2 separate regions of the Homo sapiens genome follow, and region 2 is linked to region 1. Evidence: promoter capture Hi-C in 16 types of primary human blood cells and fetal thymus (Javierre and others, 2016). All regions are on one chromosome and are shown on one strand. The core of a region is centred on a gene start or on the middle of the fragment in contact, and the rest is flanking DNA. Distances in the headings are between cores, read along the strand shown.

Region 1 (4,691 bases), core at 1-2,500:
CATTACCGCGGCCGCCGGGGTGCTTCCGGTGCTTGCCTGCAGGAATACAAAGCTACGTGGGGCCGGTGTGATGGCTCATGCCTGTAATCCCAGCATTTTAGGAGGACGAGGGGGGGTAGATCACCTGAGGTCAGGAGTTCGAGACCAGCCTGGCCAACACGGAGAAACCCCCGACTCTACTAAAAATAGAAAAAGAATTAGCCGGGCGTCGTGGCGCACACCTGTAATATCAGCTACTCGGGAGGCTGAGGCAGGAGAATCGCTTGAGCCCGGCAGGCAGGGGTTGCAGTGAGCCGAGATTTCGCCACTGCACTCCAGCCTGGGCGACAGTGATCAGTCTCACACACACACAAAAAAGCTACATGCACCACACAGCCTTCTCATGCATCTCAATACTTCCTCGCACAAAAGCAGAGTGTTTCCCAGACTTCTGTGTCCCGCTTACGCTGTTCCCACCCTACCGATGCCGGTTTTCAGCAATGCGATTACTTTAGGATTCCGGGTGAAACATCTTTTCAGGTTCCACATCACAGCATTCCCACAGTACTCCATGTCTTCAACTAACCCAATACCGTGCCTGCTCAATTCCTATTACCCCACTGATGTGAAATTCCTTAGAACTGGAATACTAGAGGATCGTCAGAAAAAAATCAACAGCTGTGCAACTTGACCACAAAAAGGTCTTATTCTAACCCACTTATAGGCTACCGATCTCCAGACTAGCTAAGCACCCGAAGAGAGCCCAAGGCCCACCCCGAGGGGAAGCCGGCACTTACCTATGCGGCCGTGGCCGTGGCTCACGTGGCCCCTAAGTTTCCGGGTCTTCCTCAGTCTGGATGGCTGTGTGGAAAAAGCTTGGTGGTAAGGCCTAAGGAATTAGGGGCAGGGGGCGATGCCCGCCAGCCGAGATGGTCCTGTAAGCCTGTGGGTCAAAGACCTAACTTCTGGAGCGTTTGGGAAAGCTGAGGGTACCGATCCGCTCAGGGCCGTGAGGTCTCACCACGGTAGCGCAGGGGCCCGCGTGTCCTAGAGATCCGAACCGCGGGCCTAACACACGGCTCCGGGAGCCCCGCCCCGGGCCCGCGCCGGCCACCCTGCCCCGCAGGCGGCCATGCGCAGCCTGGAAGCCCCGACCATGGTAGGGAGTGGATGACTAGGGGCAATGGGAATACAGCTTAGGGGTCTCCGCCGGCAAGGAAGAGGAGGCAAGAAACGAAACACCTACCATGTTGGCAGCCCAGACGAAAAAGGAAGGCCTTCGCCAAGTCTCGCGAGGTATCGGCCACGGGGGCGGGGCAAAACGCCTCACTTCCGGTCACAGAGGCCGGGCTTCGGGCGGGGCCTCCTGGTCTCGCGGGATTGCGCGCCTGCTAGTCGCTTCCTCTTTCTGAGGGTGGTGATCCCCCATCACGGAGTGTCCTGGTGGCGGTGTACGGTTTCGGTGAGGCTCGTTGTGCTAGGCTCGGAGGGCGAGAACTGTTGAAGAATCGGGGCTAGGTGTGCTGTACTGCACGCCGCCCGTGCTTGCTTGAGCCAGGCCCTTTTCTGGCGCCTTGGTCAGGGAACCGCCTAAGCCGACCCTAAGGGCCTCGTTGTCTGAGCTCCTCACCAAATGCGCCAGCCCTGAGCCGCCCCGCGCACCTCCACAGTTCTTAGTGGTCTGCCCGGGGCTGGTGATAGTGGCTACTGGTTTGTCTCCCGGCCGCAGTGCGGAACCGCGAGGCCCTCTTTAATCCTCAGTGTGCCCACCTGGTGTCTCGCTCGGTTTCCTGAAGCTCGGGCGGCTCCCGAAATGCCTTCTCCCGCTCTCACACTTCTGAGTGGGCACTGCAGCTTCCTTTCTCTTTTGCCCTTTTGCTATCATTTGGTTGTCCTCTCAAGTTTGAGCAACTTAAATTGCTTCAGGGACTTAGATGCCTGGTTGCTTTATGGTCCTTTTAATGCAGATGTTGTAAATACTTTTTCTAAATGCCACATTTAGGCCAGGCGCGGTGGCTCACACCTGTAGTCCCAACACTTTGGGAGGTCGAGGCGGGAGGATTTCTTGAGGCGAGTAGTTCAACACCAGCCTGGGCAACATAGTGAGACCCTCGTCTCCACATACAAAAGTAAATAAGTAAAAATAAATGCTATTTTTGAATTTTCTCCAGAATCTACATAACACGCCTGTGACCCTTTCCTGGACACAATGCAGACAGTTGCTCGCTTCCCCACCTGTACCACCACACAATCTAGTATAACCCTTATGTAATTTATTGACCTACGTTTGTCTTCCCTACTAGACCTAATTCCTTATGTGGTCAAGGACTGTTTTTTTTAATCCACACTCAACTAGTGATTGTTGAGTGAATAAATGAACTTACCCTCACCTCCCTGTCTTCGCTAATAGCAGCATGTCTTCGCTCTTAAGTCGGTTCCTTCAACCAGTGTTCAAGATCCCATCCCCTCGCTAGTCTATTAATAGATCCCATGGGAAAAATGAAATAAATTTTTAAAATCCCATCCCCTCAGTTATTCTCTGTGTGTATGTGTGAGCGTGTATTTATTTATTTTTCTTTGTCTTGCCCCCTTCAGCTAAAATATATTTTAGCTAAAATATCCAAAATTCTGGCCGGGCGTGGTGGCTTACTTCTGTAATCCCAGCACTTTGGAAGGCCGAGGCGGGCGGATCACGAGGTCAGGAGATCGAGACCATCCTGGCTAACACGGTGAAACCCCGTCTCTACTAAAAATACAAAAAATTAGATGGGCGTGGTGGTGGGCGCCTGTAGTCCCAGCTACTCGGGAGGCTGAGGCAGGAGAATGGCGTGAACCCGGGAGGCGGAGCTTGTAGTGAACCGAGATCGCGCCACTGCACTGCAGCCTGGGCGACAGAACGAGACTCCGTCTCAAAAAAAAAAAAAAAAATTCCAAAATTCTCCCATGTCCTTGCCCTTACAGCCAAGCTCCCCAAAAGAGTAGTCTACAAATCCTGCCCATTTGCACCTTCCCATCCATTGTTCACTGCGGTCTAGCTCACAGCCTGTGACTTCAGTGAAATTGCTCTTACTAATGTCATTAATGAACGAATTGCCAAATTGGACTCTTCCTATTCTTCATATCACTTGTTCTTTCTGTTGTACTTTAATCTGTTGGCGTCTTTTTCTAGAAAAAGTCTTGCCTTCCTCCTACTCTTTGGTCACTTTTCAGTCTTCTTTTCAGGTTCTTCCATCCAGCGTTGTCCACCATTTGAATGTTGATGTTCCTCAGCCTTCTGTCCTTGTCCTTATCTTTTCACAGTACATGGTCTTCTTGGGTGGCTTCAATTCACATCCTTATTGCTGAGCTCCACACCCATATGGTCACTTAATTACTGGTTAGTATTCCTTGGACATTCTACAGACAAAGTAAACATATCCAAAGAACTCAATCTGCACTGCTCACTGGTGCCTTCTCCTTTATTCTCTGTCTTGGTGAGTGGCACCATTGTCCACCTAGATAATGAAAATTGTCCCCAAGCCTTCTCTTCTTCTACTACACTGTCACCCTATCCTTTTGTTTCTGTATCTCCCCAATGTGCTTCCTCTGTTTAAGCCTTAGTGCCCTGCCTTCATTCAGGCCCCCATCATATCTCTTAACTGGAGTTTACAACACCTTCCTTTGTTCACTCTGCCTGCATTCTAACCCTCCTCCAATTTCTGTATCCTTCACACCTCCACCACGTTAGTATTCCGAAAACATGACTTTCATTCTTTTACTTGATCAAAAAGTTCGGTAGCTCCTTATGACCAACAGAATATAGCCCACTTGCCTTTCCAGCCTTACCCCAGCCTCTCCCTTACACAAGCTTTCTACTGCAGCCGTGCCTGGTATATCCCATTTGCATTTTTGCCTTTGCTCATGCTGTTTCCCATCCCGGAGTGCCCATCCTCTTCCTGACCACATGTCCTGAATCTTCCTCAACCTTTAAGGCCAACTTTATATTCTGCTTCTTCCCAGAACACTTCAGTCCACAAGGATAACAACCAACATTTTCAGAGCACTTGGCAATTTACAAAATACATCTGCCTGAAGGTACAGCACTACCAGCCTCATTTTACGTGTGTGAAAACTGAAGCACAGAAGAATTGGGTGACTTGTCAGACGCTGCATAGGTGGTCAGGTACAGAGCCTGGGCCTAGCCTTTAGTCTTCTCTCTCCAGATCCCCTGCTTTTACCTCAGTGACCAGTCCCTCTCTGACCTTACAGCATTATGGTCTTCATCCCTCCATCAACCTTAATCACATACTGCATGTGACCAGCAGGAAGAGGGGTCTTGAGAATAGGAGGGGAGATCAAAGAAGACATCGTCGTCTATTTGACATCAAAACTGGCCAGTAAGTGCACAAGAAATGAGCTGGGTTACCTGGAACCTAACCTTGGGAAGATGATCTGTCAATGGAGGTAAGCTGGGCAGGGCCTTGGGAATGAAAGGGAACCATCAGTGGTATTAGAGCTGGGGCCTACAATAAGGACCACCACTGCAAGGGGTTGAGGTAGGGTTCTGGGTGCTAAGACACTCCTCTTGGATAGTTTGCCAGGTTCCTTGGTTATAGAGGAGCTACGTTCTGTCCCTCAGGTCACGCGGCTGAACAGAAGGCCTCCCAGAGTGGACCCAGCACTACCCGTTGGGTTCTGTGTTCACCTAACATTCTTCTCATCAATGGCTTGAT
Region 2 (6,206 bases), core at 386-2,885, about 12 Mb before region 1:
TGCATTACACAAAGTCAGTATGTCTCCAAAAAGTCTACGTGCCTGTCATTTCATTAACTTGCTGGACGACTGCTTAACCAGCAGTTTCAACGCAGAGTTTTTTTTACTGTTTGGATTTGGGGAAAGCGTTGTCATGTCATTAAACATTCATTTAAACAGGACAAAAAAAAAAAAAAACAAAGTATCTGAAAAAAAACAGAATAAAAAAGAGCAACCAAAATACTTAAAATCACATTAGAAATTATTTCTGATTTTACAGATCCTGTCCATCAGTATTTCCCTTTATTTGACACTGAATTACTTTTTCACATACACCGATTCATCTCTTAGATGCAGTGAAAACAATATTTGTTAGTTATGGTAGACATTTACATGGTGCTTTCTGCTGTGCTACCTCCTAATGTCCGTGATTCCCCCAATATGATGAGTACCAAATTTAATGCAGTTCCTCATATTCTTTTAAATAATCAGTACACTGACAGTCACTGTAGCATTTCTTTGATTTCTAAACGAAATTATAAATTAAGCTGTCAACTTACCTTAAGTCTAATAAAATTTATTAGCTTAATGTATCCATAAAATTCAAGTCCTAAAGGGGGAAAAAGATAATTCACCTATGTTAACATAATGAGTTTTGTTTAACTGACCTATTCTATAAAGCCTTCTCTGATTAAACAATAAAATAATTCTGACCTCTAAATTACTACTTATATTTTGAATTTTATTAAGAATTAGAAGTAGTAATACAATGATACTTCTGAATATCTTGAGAAGCAGCCATAAATGACAAATTAAAGCTTTTCTAGTATTTCTAAAAAGATGGAAAACTGATTTCTAAAATTCTACTCCTCCTTTGTCAGAACAATACAAATCTGGAAAATTAAGATCCACATTTTACCAAGTATTTGGCAACTGATATCAGAGCTGAAAGTATTAAATCCCTAATTTTTATGGTGTGTATCAAATTATAATTTTGCCAGGACATGGTGTATACTAGCTTTTACATGAAGTTAAATGATGCAAGCCCAATAAGGCTTGTTATCTGGTTCTCGTATCTTTCCAGAAATGAAGCAGCATTTAAAACAAAGGAAAGCAGTAATACATCCAACCAACCAATTATTTGTCATAAAACTCTTGTTATGAGAAAACTTTAATAGTATACAAACCCCCTATATCGGTAAGTAAAAAAAAAACAAAACAAAATTCTATCTTAAGTATGATTCTAATACTTTAGAAATGCAACATTAAAAACATTAAGGCTGGGCACAGTGGCTCATGCCTGTAACCCCAGCACTTTGGGAGGCCAAGGCAGGCGGATCACCTGAGGTCGGGAGTTCCAGACCAGCCTGACCAACATGGAGAAACCCTGTCTCTCCTAAAATACAAAATTAGCCAGTGTGGTGGCGCATGCCTATAATCCCAGCTACTTGGGAGGCTGAGGCAGGAGAATCACTTGAACCCGGGAGGCGGAGGTTGCAGTGAGCCGAGATCGTGCCATTGCACTCCAGCCTGGGCAACAAGAGCGAGACTCCGTCTCAAAAAAAAAACAAAAACAAAAAACATTAAAAAATGAGGCTGTCATTTATGCCTTACGAAAGTACTTGCAGTTGAATTTATGATTTATAAACATGTGATATCACGTATTTATCTGACACTGAAACACCTGTTAGTATTTGCTATTCTTCAGTAATGTCCCTTCTTAGTTGTCAACAAATATAGGGACCAAAAAACCTATTATTTTTTTTTTTTTGAGACGGCGTCTCAGTCTGTCACCCAGGCTGTAGTGCAGTGGCATGATCTTAGCTCACTGCAACCTCCGCCTCCCGGGTTCAAGTAATTCTCCTGCCTCAGCCTCCCAAGTAGCTGGGACTACAGGCACATGCCACCATGCCCGACTAATTTTTTGTATTTTTAGTAGAGTTGGGTTTTCACTGGGTTAGCCAGGATGGTCTCGATCTCCTGACCTTGTGATCCATCCGCCTTGGCCTCCCAAAGGTTTTCACTGGGTTAGCCAGGATGGTCTCAATCTCTTGACCTTGTGATCCACCTGCCTTGGCCTCCCAAAGTGTTGGAATCACAGGCGTGAGCCACAGCACCTGGCCTATTTAGTTAATTTTATTGTAGTATAGCTCTTCTACATCCATTTAAAGTGGAAGGCCTTAATTGTAAGGCAAGTGTGTTTAAATAAAAGTTTCAATAGAAACATCACCTGAGTATTTTGCATATTAATCTTAACTTCATCACTCTTTTTCCAGTCTCTACCGAACTTTGTATAAAACTCAGTCTCGTAGGCTGTGAAGTTCATGTCATGCTTTGAGCTGATTGTCTTTTTTCAAATGACCTGCGTCCTTTTTCAAGTCCTACATCTACACTTGCTCTCCCTAAATCTAATATGTAATCACATAAAATGTAAAAATGTAATCACATGCCAAGTCTGTTTTTGTTTTTAGTTGAAAAGCTAATATAAGCTTAAATACAGTGAATCTTGTCTAGAAGAGTGACTTATTCATCTTTTCTCAAGGACCGCTTGTCAAAAAAACTCCATTTCCACAAGATGTTGCTGTGTGATTCGCCATATTAAACTCGTACAGAAAAGGGTCTGAAAAACTATAAAATCTGAACTTATATTTCACAGATTTTTTTTTTTTTTGAGAAGAGTCTCACTCTGTTGCCCAGGCTGGAGTGCAGTGATACCATCTCAGCTCACTGCCACCTCTGCCTCCCAGGTTTAAGCAATTCACCTGCCTCAGTCTTCTGAGCAGCTGCTATTACAGGTGTGCGTCACCACACCCAGATAACTTTTGTATTTTAGTACAGGTGGGGTTTCAGCATGTTGGCCAGGCTGGTCTTGAACTCCCGACCTAAAGTGATCCACCCACCTCAGCCTCCCAAAGTGCTGGGATTACAGGTGTGAGCTGCCATGCCTGCCCAAATTTCACAAATTAAATTGCCTTTATTCTAAAAACTACTCACCATGTTTATGAACCATGCTGTCAATATTAAACTGATGCTCAGACTTACAGTGTGAAAATGTTTCTTCAGCAGATGTGAATAACCTGAAAAATCAAGCAATAGCTTCATGGAATAGTCCCCTAAGAAGTCTAAATACTGATTTCATGTTACATATACACTTTTTTTTTTTTTTTAACTCTGCTGGTTTCTAGTTTTACTTCCAATTAAGAAAAAACAAACACACTTGTATCTGAAAGGAAGGGAATCCAGCACTTTTAAAGGGAATTAGTACTTCTGAGTCCCATTTTATACCTAAAACCAATTATCCTTTAAATGTCAAAGTGAATTTATTTGTCAAATAATATCACTGATTTTATCAAAAGGCTTTTAAGAGAGTTCCCTTTGATAGAGTCTGTTTCTCTCAAGTCATACAATTTCTCTACTTGAGATTCTTTTCTCCTCTAAGTGTCAACTCTGCTTTCAGAGGCTTTGAACTGGCACAGCTCAAACTGCTTTTAGAAATAAAGCATAAAATGTAATTTTACAGCTGGCATACTCCCCAAGTGCCTTATTTCAAAAGTGATCTTGTAGTATTCCCAACGTACTTGCATCACAGACACTGTGAGGATCAATCCTCTTTATTATGTGACATGCAAATCTGAAGGCTACTTAAAGACAGGAATACACAGCAGAGAAGCTGTATACCTTATCTATATTCCTAACACATGTGGAGCATTAGTTTTCCACAAATGTTTACCGAGATAGGTTATGTCGACTATTTATGGAGGCTATCACAGCCACGGTACCACTGGTGCTCAATAAATATTTTATGACAACTAGAATATATACAGGCATTCTATCTACCCAATGGGGCTACAGATGAGAACACTAACGCACCACCACTCAGCACCATGCCCAGATACAGGGAACACTGGAAAATGTATTAAAGTAACACCGGCCAATGCCAACCGGGCCTCTTTCATGCCTACTTGCCTAGGACAGGAGCCAAAGCTTCCCAAGACTAACAGGCAGAATTTTAAGTGGCAAGAATGTGAGTTTGGAAATAAGCACACCACAGCTTTGTGACCTTGAGCAAATTATTGATACTACAGTCTTTTTCCTTAAGTGAAAAGTCCTACTTAAGTAAGGTGAACTTCCTTCTTAGACTATGGAAACCGCTCAAATAAAAAAGAAATGTTTCACCTGAGAAGCTCTGTACTGGTCAAAGAATTAGCATGGTAAAGCCGGAAGGCTCCGTAGGGATTATCTAGTTCAGGGTGGCTGCCAAATATGTTACTCGTTAGTAGTAACTCGTTAGTAACTTCACTGTTACTTCCGATCTTGTCCTCATAAAAACAGAATATTCTTAGACCCCATCCCTGACTTGGAAGGATTCAGGTGCAGAGTTCAGTATCATTTTGTTTTCAGCGTCTCAAGTGACAAGATTTGGGAACCACAGATTCAATGCACTACCAGTCAAAAGCTTGCAGTACAACCGGCCTTCCAGTTCACGGTTCCCCCTCTCTACTACCGAGGGTCCTCCTTCTCCACAAGCCCTCACCCCAGACCAGTGGTTCCAGAATTCAAAGACAGGCCACTCTGGCTTGCCTCCCGCCCGAAGGCGTTCCTGGGCACACAGACCCCACGCGCCCGGGCACCCTAGGGCAGAGGCCAGGCGCTGAGGCGGACGAACCTGTTACAGAACAGGCAGGGGGTCTGCTGCTTGCCGTGGGGGAGATCTGCATCGTCCTCATCCTCCCAGGCGGCCTCGTCCCCGCTGTCCGACAGTTCTGGCAGGTCCTCCTCATTCTCCACAGCGCCCCGGCCGCCTAACACACACACACAACAATCAGATCGGCCTCGGACACCGGTGCGGCCCGGGGGCTCGAGGAGCAGGTGACGATGGGCTCTCCTCCGCCCCGTTCGCCCGCGGCCCTCACTCAGCACCTCCTTCATGATCCCTGCGAGCCCCCCACCCTGCCCGGGCCCGTGTCCCGGAGGGTCTTCCACCGGCCCCACAGCGGCGCGGCCTGGGGCTGGACGAGCCGGGTGCTGAGGGGCCAGGGTACCCACCGGTAGCGCCTGACGCTAACGAGCACATGGCTGTGGTGCCCCGAGAGCCCGGCGTGTCTGGGGGCGGGGACCGGGTTGGGCAACGAGCGCGCGCAGCGGCCGCCGACTCCAGGAACGAGCGCGAGCACAAGCGCGAACCCGCGGCGGGACCCGGGCTCCGGAAACTTCGCAGACCGCCGGGAACGCCGAAGCGCGCGCGCTGGCTCGCAATCGCTTCCGGCCTCGAGGCGCCGTGCGGGTCACGTGAGGTGGGGGCGGGGCGAGAGCGGGGGCTCCGCCTCCTCCTGCCGCAGGGTTGGCGCAGTGCGCGCTGAAGAGGCGCGCTGATGACGGTTAATGTTGCAGCCCGGAAGATGACTTTTGTCTCCTCCTTGGGTTGCGGCAGGCGTTAGTGGGAGGTCGCGGCCCGCTGCTGTGAGCCCCAAGGCAGAGAGACGTCGCTGCGGTTTTGGGGTTGGCATCCTGTCCTCTGTGCGCCCCTTTTTCCTGGGATGAGCGGTTAGCGGAGGGGCGATCGGCCCATGACGCCCTCTGGTGGCGGAGGAGGCCAAACGCTGGAGGCTCGGCTGGTTTCTGGGCTCCCAGGTCCTGGAGGGGGTGCAGCTGGCGAGAGGGAACGAACTGCATGGGCCAGGGTGGGTCTACTGCAGGGACAGATAGGTGTCAAACCCCCCAAGACGGATTTTAATCTTTGGTTAAGTGAGAACGTGAACTCTAGAGGCAGCCTGCTGGGTTTGAATCCTACCCACGTCACTTTGTAACTGTGATCTTGGGCAAGTTACTCGACCTCTCTCTGCCTCAGTTTCATCAAATACAAAACAAGGATAATAACTGCACTTGGGCAGGGCACGGTGGCTCACGTCTATAGTACCAGCACTTTGGGAGGCTGAGGCGGGCGGATCACCTGAGGTCAGGAGTTGGAGACCAGCCTGGCCAACATGGTGAAACCCTGTCCCTACTAAAAATACAAAAATTAACCAGGTGTGGTGGCACGCGCCTGCAATCCCAGCTACTTGGGAGGCTGAGGCAGGAGAATTGCTTGAGCCCGGGAGGCGGAGCTTGTGGTGAGCCGAGATTGTGCCACCGTACTCCAGCCTGGGCAACAGAGCAAGACTCCATCTTAAAAAAAAAAAAACAAAAAACAAAAAACCTGGACTAACTTCAGAACTACAGTAAGGATA

What was found. Contacts are between HindIII fragments. The CHiCAGO score rates a contact against its expected background, and 5 or more counts as called.
Region 2: a fragment that was not itself captured here is called in contact with the fragment with the promoter of RPL27A in region 1 in 1 of 17 cell types (neutrophils); the score reaches 6.8 in neutrophils.

What each region holds. Positions count from the first base shown.
Region 1 is chr11:8,679,351-8,684,041 of GRCh38, reverse strand. RPL27A (ribosomal protein L27a) reads right to left here and starts at 1,250. Exons shown (of 5, transcript NM_000990.5): 1 at 1,226-1,250; 2 at 777-840; 3 at 1-36. The coding sequence starts at 1,228. TRIM66 (tripartite motif containing 66) reads left to right here and starts at 1,377. Exons shown (of 25, transcript NM_001388022.1): 1 at 1,377-1,441; 2 at 3,979-4,141; 3 at 4,228-4,422. RefSeq lists enhancers at 329-971, 1,298-1,487, 1,688-1,757, 621-1,820 and a silencer at 978-1,177. The HindIII fragment of the contact is 2,972 bases long and covers 857-3,828 here.
Region 2 is chr11:20,386,594-20,392,799 of GRCh38, reverse strand. It overlaps PRMT3 (protein arginine methyltransferase 3), which reads right to left and starts at 5,084. Exons shown (of 16, transcript NM_005788.4): 1 at 5,026-5,084; 2 at 4,646-4,781; 3 at 2,974-3,056; 4 at 540-589. The coding sequence starts at 5,053. RefSeq lists enhancers at 4,214-4,263, 4,119-4,725, 4,726-5,333, 5,207-5,376 and a silencer at 4,814-5,373. The HindIII fragment of the contact is 1,671 bases long and covers 800-2,470 here.